Regions from separate parts of the Homo sapiens genome. Here region 1 is linked to region 2. Evidence: promoter capture Hi-C in 16 types of primary human blood cells and fetal thymus (Javierre and others, 2016). All regions are on one chromosome and are shown on one strand. The core of a region is centred on a gene start or on the middle of the fragment in contact, and the rest is flanking DNA. Distances in the headings are between cores, read along the strand shown.

What was found. Contacts are between HindIII fragments. The CHiCAGO score rates a contact against its expected background, and 5 or more counts as called.
Region 1: a fragment that was not itself captured here is called in contact with the fragment with the promoter of CBX2 in region 2 in 1 of 17 cell types (total B cells); the score reaches 5.4 in total B cells.

The regions. Positions count from the first base shown.
Region 1 is chr17:81,347,680-81,352,958 of GRCh38, forward strand. No RefSeq gene overlaps it. Among named protein-coding and RNA genes, the nearest start is that of RENO1, 4.3 kb to the left of the region's middle. RefSeq lists an enhancer at 622-1,259. The HindIII fragment of the contact is 1,209 bases long and covers 1,938-3,146 here.
Region 2 is chr17:79,774,348-79,779,756 of GRCh38, forward strand. CBX2 (chromobox 2) reads left to right here and starts at 3,801. Exons shown (of 5, transcript NM_005189.3): 1 at 3,801-3,960; 2 at 4,037-4,080; 3 at 5,015-5,080. The coding sequence starts at 3,889. RefSeq lists silencers at 3,606-3,985, 3,996-4,065 and an enhancer at 4,461-5,054. The HindIII fragment of the contact is 13,003 bases long and covers 554-5,409 here.

The sequences.
Region 1 (5,279 bases), core at 1,292-3,791, 1.6 Mb after region 2:
CCCTCAACTGTTGTTGCCAAAGCCACTAGACAGCAACTTTTAAGACTCCACCCTGGGGTTCCCCACTCCAGGGGTCACCAGAATTCTGAGGCGGGCACTCTGCTGTGTCCCCTGAGGCCCACAGCAGCCCCAGGGTCTGGGGGACTCAGGGAGGACCTCCTAGCATCCTGACCTCCTCCAGCCCTGGTTGCAGCCCACAGACCCAGATCAATATGGCCTTAATGGTGTGGCTCCCAGGGATTAAGCAGCCAAGGCCAGAGACCTGAATGGGTTTAGAGGCTGAGAAGGGATTTAATCAAGGTAGCCCTCCATACAGTTCCTCCTGACACCCTCCTCTCCTGTTTCCAGTCCCTGGAGATGACAAAAAAAAAAAAAAAAACTGAGGCCAGGCACAGTGGCTCATGCCTGTAATCCCAGCACAGCACTTTGGGAGTCTGAGGCAGGCAGATCACCTGAGGTCAGGAGTTCAGGACCAGCCTGACCAACATGGAGAAACCCCATCTCTACTAAAAATACAAAATTAGCCAGCCTTGGTGGCGAATGCCTGTAGTCCCAACTATTCAGGAGGCTGAGGCAGGAGAATCGCTTGAACCCAGGAGGTAGAGGCTGTGGTGAGCCGAGATTGCGCCATTGCACTCCAGCCTGGGCAACAACGAGAGTGAAACTCCATCTCCAAAAAAACAAAGAAAAAAAAACTGTAAGTCCATTACAACCAGCAGGGACAAGATGGGTGCCCTCCGTGGCCCAGAAATCTGGAGGAGTCCTGGGGAGATGGGGGTGGGGACGTTGCTCTCGCTGGAGGGAAGAAATGACAGCCTTGGTGCCCAGAAGTGAAACCTGCTGGCAGGTGATGGCAGCTCCCAGAGGAGCCAAGGGGCCCTGGGACAGTGGGAGGGGGATGGCTGGGGTGTCTGTGGGAGGGCAGCCTCACCCTTGGCTGAGTACACTCAGCACAGGCAGTGGACAGAGAAGAGATCCCATTGTGGAATAACACCTGGAGGGAGCGGGGAGTCGTGGGCTCTGAGCCGTCAGCCACAGTTGAGGTGTCTGACCACGTGCTGCTGATGGACAAGCAGGGATCCCACACAAAGCTGGGATCACCAACCCCAAGGACGCACCACAAACTGAAGAACTAACACGAGCGAACTAACTAGCGCAGAGCCGGCGCTGTACAGCGAGATTGGGTGCCCCTCCTCCTTGGCCTGGGCTAGACTGAATCTGCCAGGTTCCCTGGCAAGGGGTGTGGCCAGGTGGCCACCTGCAGTGGAGGTGACAGCAGTGACGTGTGCCTCTCCTGTGACTGGCCCAAAAGGCCCTCCATTAACTTTTCCTTTCCCAGGGCCTGGCAACAACCAGGGTGACACAGGAAGCTTCGCTTGAGGACAGCAGAGTCACCCTCAGCCTAGGGCTCTGAGTGACTGCAAGAATCAAGGCCATTGTCAAACGGAAACCCTGCCATGGTTGTCAAGAGAGAAATCCACTTCTCTTTTGTTTAGGCATTTACACCAGCGTCTATGCCTCAGAGCAGTTTAACTTACAATTCAATTAGCAATTTAATCATTGGTTTTTCACTCCCCCGTAGCAGAATTTTACATCCGTCTGCTTGCTGTGGTCTCTAGGTGGTGGGTGGGCTCTCCTCCCTTGACTTTGGGCTTGGCGAGTGACGTGCTCTGGCTAGTGGGAAGGTAGCAGATTTGAAATGGGCAAAGGTTTGGAATGTGCCAGCAAGGGCAGCCTGGTCTTCCTGCTTGCCAGGGACCCACTACAAGCAGGCTGTGCCCCAGAGAAGAATGGAGAACGCAGATAACTGACGGGGGCTCCAAGAAGCGAGAAACCTGGGCGGACCTCAGCCCAGCCCACATCCCAGAACCCGGAGGCCAGGGGCTTGGCCAGGTGGAGGTCGGCCCTAGCCCTGTGAGCGTGAGACTCGGCCACCAAGCTTTAAGGTCGTCGTTATGCAGCACTGTTGTGGCAAAAGCCGACTGATACACCTGCCCTGGCACTTGGGGATACAGGGAAACGGATGTGGTGAATTGAAGATGATGCCACACGTCCCCTGGTGTGCCGAGGTAAAGGCTTGGGAACGCTGGGAAGAGGGAGGAAAGAGCCAGAAGGTTAGCGCGAGGCACTCATTCCCTGTAGCTTGACTACTGTTTCCAGAAATTGAGGGCCGGTTTGCAATTAGAGTTACCCCAGAAAGTTGGGACTCCCAGGTTGAAAAAGCCACTGTTTATGCCTCAAACAGTAGGAGAAAAGATGGTGGCTGTTCAAGGCCTGTCACTCAGGCAGCTCAGTCCAACAAAAGTGTGCAGGCCTACGGCAAAGATCAGATGAAGGCTCAGGTTGCGGGGGGAGGGGAGCAGATGGCTTAATGAATCATCTGTCAGTTGGACCCGGAAGACAGTCATCGGGACCCACGGAAAGGCTCTGCCCATCCTAGAGAGGCAGGCTTTGGGCTGGGTCTTCTCCCTGGAGATGATGGTGACTTTTTCTAACACGATGTGTGGAGGAAGGGTGGGTCTCACAGATGTCTGGAGGCCAAGGGCTGGCTGGCTGCCGTCCGGCTGTCCAACAGAAGCCGTTACCCCTTCTCATGGGGCCCCTGGCTGGTCTGCATTCCCAGGCTCCCTCGCAGTAGGTGTGGCTGGGTAACCGTGGTGTCCAACAGAATCTGGCAGAAGCAGTGTGCACCAGTTTCAGGAGCAGGTCACCCTTCCAGGAGGCTTTTAGGGTTCCCCCTTCTGATGGCTGAAATGGGCACATCAGAGAGACTGTGGAAGACAAATGTGCAAGATGACAGGGCAGCCTTCAGCCTGGGGCCCAACCAGGCCCCACCCCGCAGGAGCACTTGCTTGGGCAGGTCAGGGATAAATAAGCCGCGGGCTGGCATGGGCAGCTACGTTTGGGGTCTATTTGCTACAGTTGTGTAACTTGCACTGAGCAAGAGTTTCAGAACACACAGTGTTCAAAAACACCAGTAATAGCTTCAGAGAGAAAAGAGATTTTGTTCTTTAAAAAAAGAATCTGGGGAAGTGAACTCAGATTTTTGCTTCCTTCCTCATAATTTTAGGTAGTATTCAAAAATTTACAAGAAGATTCAGAAATAATAACCAAGAAAACTGCATTCATGTGAACAAATAAAAATAAGCTTTGGGGCTGGGCACAGTGGCTCGCGCCTGTAATCCCAGCATTTTGGGAGGCCAAGGCGGGTGGATTGCTTGAGGTCAGGCATTTGAGACCAGCTTGACCAACATGGTGAAACCCTGTCCCTACTAAAAATACAAAAATGAGCTGGGCGTGGTGGCGGGTGCCTGTAATCCCAGCTACTCAGGAGGCTGAGGCAGGAGAATCACTTGAATCCGGGAGGCAGAAGTTGCAGTGAGCCAGGACTGCGTCATTGCACTCCAACCTGGACAACAAAGTAAGACTCTGTCTCAAAAATTATAAAAAATAAATAGAGGCCGGGCACGGTGGCTCACACTTGTAATCCTGTATCTGGAATTGGTGGGTTCTTGGTCTCACTGACTTCAAGAATGAAGCCGTGGACCGTCACGGTGAGTGTTACAGTTCTTAAAGGCGGCGTGTCTGGAGTTTGTTCCTTCTGATATTCAGATGCGTTCGGAGTTTCTTCCTTCTGGTGGGTTCGTGGTCTCGCTGGCTCAGGAGTGAAGCTGCGGACCTTCGCGGTGAGTGTTACGGCTCTTAAGGCAGCGCGTCTGGAGTTGTCCTTCCTCCCGGTGGGCTCGTGGTCTCGCTGGCTTCAAGAGTGAAGCTGCAGACCTTCGGGGTGAGTGTTACAGCTCATAAAGGCAGTGTGGACCCAAAGCGTGAGCAGTAGCAAGATTTATTGCAAAAAGCGAAAGAACAAAGCTTCCACAGCGTGTAAGCAGACCAGAACAGGTTGGCACTGCTGGCTCGGGCAGCCTGCTTTTATTCTCTTATCTGGCCCCACCCACATCCTGCTGATTGGTAGAGCCCAGTGGTCTGTTTTGACAGGGCACTGATTGGTGTGTTTACAATCCCTGAGCTAGACACAAAGGTTCTCCACGTCCCCACCCGATTAGCTAGATACAGAGTGTCTACACAAAGGTTCTCCAAGGCCCCACCAGAGTAGCTAGATACAGAGTGTCGATTGGTGCATTCACAAACCCTGAGCTAGACACAGGGTGCTGATTGGTGTGTTTACAAAACTTGGACTAGATACAGAGTGCCGATTGGTGTATTTACAATCCCTTAGCTAGACATAAAGTTCTTCAAGTTCCCACTAGACTCAGGAGCCTAGCTGGCTTCACCCAGTGGATCTCGCACTGGGGCTGCAGGTGGAGCTGCCTGCCAATCCCGCGCCGTGCGCCCACGCTCCTCAGCCCCTGGGTGGTCGATGGGACTGGGCGCCGTGGAGCAGGGGGTGGCGCTCGTCGGGGAGGCTCGGGCTGCACAGGAGCCCACGGGTGGGGGGCGCGGGGCGGGGACGGGAGGCTCAGGCATGGCAGGCTGTAGGTCCCAGCTCTGCCCCACGGGAAGGCAGCTAAGGCCTGGCGAGAAATCCAGCGCAGCGCCGGTGCGCCGGCACTGTTGGGGGACCCAGCACACCCTCCGCAGCCGCTGGCCCGGGTGCTAAGCCCCTCATTGCCCGGGGCTGGCAGGGCCGGCCGGCTGCTCCGAGTGCGGAGCCCGCCAAGCCCACGCGGAACTCCAGCTGGCCCGCAAGCGACGCACGCAGCCCCAGTTCCCTCTCGCGCCTCTCCCTCCACACCTCCCCGCAAGCTGAGGGAGCCGGCTCCGGCCTTGGCCAGCCCAGAAAGGGGCTCCCACAGTGCAGCGGCGGGCTGAAGGGCTCCTCAAGTGCCGCCAGTGGGAGCCCAGGCAGAGGAGGCGCCGACAGCGAGCGAGGGCTGTGAGGACTGCCACACGCTGTCACCTCTCAATCGCAGCACTTTGGGAGGCCGAGGCGGGTGGATCACGAGGTCAGGAGATCGAGGCCATCCTGGCTAACACGGTAAAACCCTATCTCTACTAAAAATACAAAAAATTAGCCGGGCGTGGTGGCGGGCGCCTGTAGTCCCAGCTACTTGGGAGGCCGAGGCAGGAGAATGGCGTGAACCCAGGAGGCGGAGCTTGCAGTGAGCCGAGATCGCGTCACTGTACTCCAGCCTGGGTGACAGAGCAAGACTCCGTCTCAAAAATAAATAAATAAATAAATAAAAAATTGGGCTCGTTTGGTTTTGTGGAGTGTTTTGAGACAGGGAGTACAGCAGCAGGGTCACTGTAGTACAGCACAG
Region 2 (5,409 bases), core at 2,551-5,050:
AAAATTAATAAATGACACTCTTTAAAATAAAAGCTTCATGTAATGGAGACCTCCTGCAAGGGGACTGTCATCATAAATGAGCTCATTGTCCATTTCCCACCTCCTATAACTGTGTTCCTTAACCACCCCCTGCCTCCAGGATCGGGGCGGGGAAGGGGGGTGCCTCCAGCCTGAGCCTGTCTTTAGGTGTGCTGCAATGAGCTAGGTGGCCTGGTGGGTGAGGGTGAGTGGAGTCCGAGAAACATACGGGGTTGCTCCAGCCTTTGACCTTGGAAGGCCTCCTGAGAGCAGGCTCTCCACCACTTCCAGAACAGCCTGCCCATTTGCCCCTCCCAGGCCAACATGGGAAACAGCAGGCCCAGGCTCCACGGTCCTGTACCTGATACAGTTTGTATTCTCCTGCCTCATGTGCACAGCGAGGGATTGGGCAGGCTGCCCTTTGTAAGAAGTGTTCTAAACGCTGAGAGCCCTGGGCTGCCTCTGGCTTGTCCTGGGTCAGAATCCAGGGGCGGACATGTGCATCGTGTGCCCAGGGGTCCTTAGGCAAACTGAAAGCTTGAGGGATCCTGCAAGTGCCTGAACTGTGCTTATTTTTACTTGAGTTCTGATACACAAACACGGTCTGTCCCGCATATGTAATATTCACATATTACATACACAGAAACGGCGTGACATTAACACAGCTAGCCTGTAAGTCACACCTTAGTCTTGCAAATGTGCAGAGGAGCTGGGGGCAAATTACGACATGAGATATTAAATGTGATGTAAATGTGTGATGTATTCTAAATCCTGAGTGTATCCCATGCAGACCGGCTGGTGGTGGTGTCTGGTTCCTCCTTTTAGCCAACACCGCTGATGGCAGTAGGGAGACAGTGCTTTTAGAAAATCTAAGAGCTGTTTGAAAGTATTTGGTTAAGAAGTAACTACTGTTACCTAGTTACAGCTGCCAAATCCAGGGTCACTGGATTGATCTCAATTCCTGACTTTTCCATTGACTTCAGAGTGAGACATTCTTTGCTTTGGCATCTGTAATTTTCGATCCACAAGCATAGCGTGAAAATACTTATGCTTTCTTAGTAGCATTTCAGACACGAATAAGTTAATACTTGTCCTTATCACTTGCGTAGAAAGGAAATCAGTACTATACAAAGTCTGTACTCCCTGAATGTCTTCCTCTGTGCCTGGATTTTTAATATCTTTTTTGTATGTGTTTTAAACATTCTTGTATATAATTAAGCATAACTGTGAGTGTAGGTAAACTATTCATATTCCAGGATTAATTTATGTAACCGTATTACTTTCATTTAAAATATGTTTAAAGCAGATCCCTCTCATTCCTGTGGACCTGCAAAGTGTCCAGTACAGTGACCACCAGCTACATGTGGCTACTCCCACTGAAATGAATTAAAGTGAAATACAATTTAAAATTCGAGCCTTCAGTGGCACTAGCCACACTGCCAGTGCTCAGCAGTCCCAGGTGCCTAACGGCCACCACACTGGACGCAGTGGAGGGAGGCTCTGTCCATCCACTTCCATCACCCACAGATGGAGCTGCTGCTACGGTCTTATACTACTGGATATCTAGTAGTGCCCACATGATAGTACATACTAACTATCTGTCGAATGAATAATACAATAATTAGTTTTAACTTGTCTTAATAATTCTTAAAATGTGACAGTCAAAACGGAAGACGTCCGCTTGTTTTACACAGTTGGATTAGCTGGGGGTTATTCTTCCCTTCTGCCTATTCCCAGCTTTGTTTTTAGGGAACGTGCCACAGATTTTGGATCACACGTTCACAGAATGTATCTGATTATTTCATTCTGGCCAAATCTGTCATATTTGTTTCTCCAAATGAATTATCTAAATATTATTTTACCCAAACTGTTTGCAGTTGGGTAGATGATGTACATGTTAAACCTTCCTGGACGCTGATTTATTTTTTTCAATGTGTTAGTATCAAATTCTAGCAAATTTATTTCTTAAGCAAAGAAATCATTCCCTTTTCAAAGCCTTCTTTTCTTTAAAAAGAAATCAAGCAAGTATCCCAGCATACCATGAGTCAAAGAGGAAACTGGAAACTTCCAGGGCAAAATCTTAGACCCAAGATGAATTCTGCAAGGAAACGTGATGTGAAACTGATCCAGCTATTTGTAGGATTACAATAAATACACCTTTGCCCTCAACTCCACAATTTACTGCCAAGCTGCACAAGACAGGGATACAAAAGGAGCCGGCGGAGACACTGTTAGCGGATCCCTTCACTCCAGAGGCCAGTTTTATCCCAACACAAGGATTCTTTACTGCCTCTGCCCCTGAGTAAACAAACACCTTCCCCCCAAGGACATTTCCCTTTCTCCTGCCCTCTTTGCAAACAACATCTGAATTTGCACGTACTCTCCAGGAAATCAAATGAATGTAACCTATCTAACCAAAGAAACTGAAGAACACGCCATAAATTGAAAGATCGGTTCCTACAGTTCAGTATTTTCTCCAGTAGGCCTTTCTGTAAAAACAAAAAAACACATTTCTCCTGCAGAACCCTTTATAAATATGGTTTTGATGATCACAATTACATTGAGACAGTCTCCTACAACAAGAAACGACTTTTGGATCTGCTCAACAGAAAGAGAATTTTGCAGCTGTGTTCAAGGAAGCAAGAAAAGCAGAGAGTGAATTTTCATGGAGTTAGACTGCGTTGAGACGAATGAAGCTAAGGCTCAGGTCTCTTTCATTACGTGTTTGACTTGTCCTGATTCAAAATCTAAATAACTTAAAGGGTGATTCTTCATGGAATTCGAATCTTAACACCGGAATAAAAGGGTAGCCTGCTGACGACGATCACAGGGAGGACAAGGGGTCACCCCCACTTTCATAACATGGCCTGACCCTTTTCTGCCGCGGACAATTGATCCGAAGGACGCCGGCTGCCCAGCCCTGGCGGGCCACTACTGACCTAGTCCGAAGTTAGGAACAGCCTTGCAAACCGCCCCCTCCCCCTCCATTTCATCAAAATCGGGGAACAAATTCAGAAAAGGTGCAGCTGGTTTTCTCCCTACACGTGCCCTAAAACTCGGGGGCTGGATCCACTTTTCATAGCTGTTTAATAAGAACTCCGGGCAGTTCGTATTACTTCTTTCTCAGAGTGCTTGGTGGTTTAAGTTAAAGCATTTTCCTCTCTCGCCTTTGGGGGAAAAAGCCTCGGCTGCTGGGGTTTGTGGGCCCCTCCCCCGGACTTCGTCTTCCTTTCCTTCCCCAGCCCCCGACCCGTTTTGCTCTCGTCCAAAACAGAGCGACTCCCCCGCTGCCGAGGAAAAGCCAGTTCAAGAAGCCGGGGGAAGGGTGGGGCCCCGCGTGCCCCGGAGCAGCGCCCCTCGAAGGCGGGGGCAGGAAGCAGCCGCCGCGCCCCGTCCCGCTTCCCTCCCTTCGGGCCAGAACAATGGCTTTTTGCCCGGAAAACGGAGTTGGGAGCAAGGGCGGGCGCGCCCCGGGAATCACGCGGGACTCGGTGGGCGCCCCAGGCCCGAAGTCCCTAGGCACCTCCTCCCCCAGCCAGGGGCCCGCCCGCGCCCCCACCCCCGCCCCCGCCCCCGCCCGGGGCCCCGCGCGGGACCCCCCGCCGGAGCGCGAGGCCCAGCCCGCCGCGGACAATGCGCGCCCCGCCCCGCCCCGCACCCGCCCCCCCTCGCTGATTGGCCCGCACGGGATTTGGGCAGCGCGCGGGGGCGGGCGGCGGGCCGGGGCGCGGGCGCGGAGCGGCGGTGCGCGTGCGCGGGGCGGGCCGGCGCCGGGCGGGGGCGGTGCTTTGTGTGCTGCCGGCGGGGCGCGCGGCGGTCCGGGCGGGTGACTGGCGGCGGGCGCCGCGGTCGGGCTGGCTGCCGGGCAGCATGGAGGAGCTGAGCAGCGTGGGCGAGCAGGTCTTCGCCGCCGAGTGCATCCTGAGCAAGCGGCTCCGCAAGGTGCGTGCGGCCCGCCGGGCCCCCCGCCCGCCGCCCGCTGTCCGTCTGGCTCACGGCCCCTCTTCTCTCCCCGCAGGGCAAGCTGGAGTACCTGGTCAAGTGGCGCGGCTGGTCCTCCAAGTGAGTCCCCCGCGACGCCGCGCCCCCCTCCCGCCCCCTCGCCCGGGGGTGGGGACGTGGAGCCCCTCGGCCGCGCCGTCCGGTGGCCTGGGGGCGCCCGCGGGCAGAGCGGGAAGTTCGCGGGGTCCCCGCGGGCTCCTCCGGCTCTGAGGGGGGCGGGGGCCGCCCGGCCCGAGGTTGCCCTTTGTTTACACGCCCGCGGGTGCAGAGCTGGGCGGCCCCCCGCGCCAGAACCTCCTCGGCTGCCGCGCCGCGCTCCCCCCAACCCCCGTCCCGGCCGGGAGGGAGGCGCGGGATGCAAGCCCCCCTCCTCTTGGCCAGATTCTCCCCGCTGTAACCTGAGCTTGCTATTGATGGATGTAGAGTTTCTTTTTTTTTTTCTTTCTTTTAATGGAAGGGAGGGTGTTTGGCATCCCCGGAAGGGGCTCTCTGCACAGCTGCTCCCGCGGCCCCGTTTCTGCGTCTTCCCGGACCCCGCTCTTTCTTCGCTACCCCTCGAGGTGCCCCGGCCCGCGCGCCACATTGTTCTGGATCTCGGGCTGGGCGCCTGTGCCCCTCCCTGCATGCTGGACCTGCCTTCCCTTCCTCCTCTGGCTCCGGGCCAGGGTTTGGGGGAATCCCTCTCTGCAACTTTGCGTTTTATGGGGGTTTGTTTTTCTCCCAGGCAGAGACTGTGGGAGTCCTCTTGTGGCCTTGTTTTAATTGGGGGGTTGGAGCGGCAGTTTCCCTTTGGGTCTGAGGTTAGAGTGCTGGCTTGGTGGGGGGTGGCCAGCCTCCAAAACCTGGGTTTGGACTTTGAGAAGTGCCATGGTGCTACGGTGCCACTGCCATCGGCCCAAGTCGAGGAGCGGTGAGGGCGAGCCCCCTCGGGCTGCCTTGCAAAGCGGTGATCATCAGCCTGGCGTCTAATGCTGCCCTGTCCTCTGCTTTGCAGACATAACAGCTGGGAGCCGGAGGAGAACATCCTGGACCCGAGGCTGCTCCTGGCCTTCCAGAAGAAGTGAGGACGCTGACAGCACTGGGGAGGGTGTGGGGGAGGGACGGTGGCTGGTTGGAGTCGTGCTGGGCGCTGCTCGCCTGCCGGGAGGCTGGAGCTGGGGCTGTGGTCTGAGGTCCCTTAGCAAGATTGTGTCCAGGGCCATCTCTGTGGCTGGCTGTAAAAGTCCCCAGCCAGCCCCTCTCCCACCTTCTCCTAGCCAGCCTGTATCCATCCCTGAGAAGAACCTAAGTAAGTGCTGCTTTGGTGTTTCCGACAGCCATACTTGCAAAAACCAACTTTTTCAGTTGCTTCAGATAAAGATGTTATAGCTTCTCTTGGCCTTTTCTGCT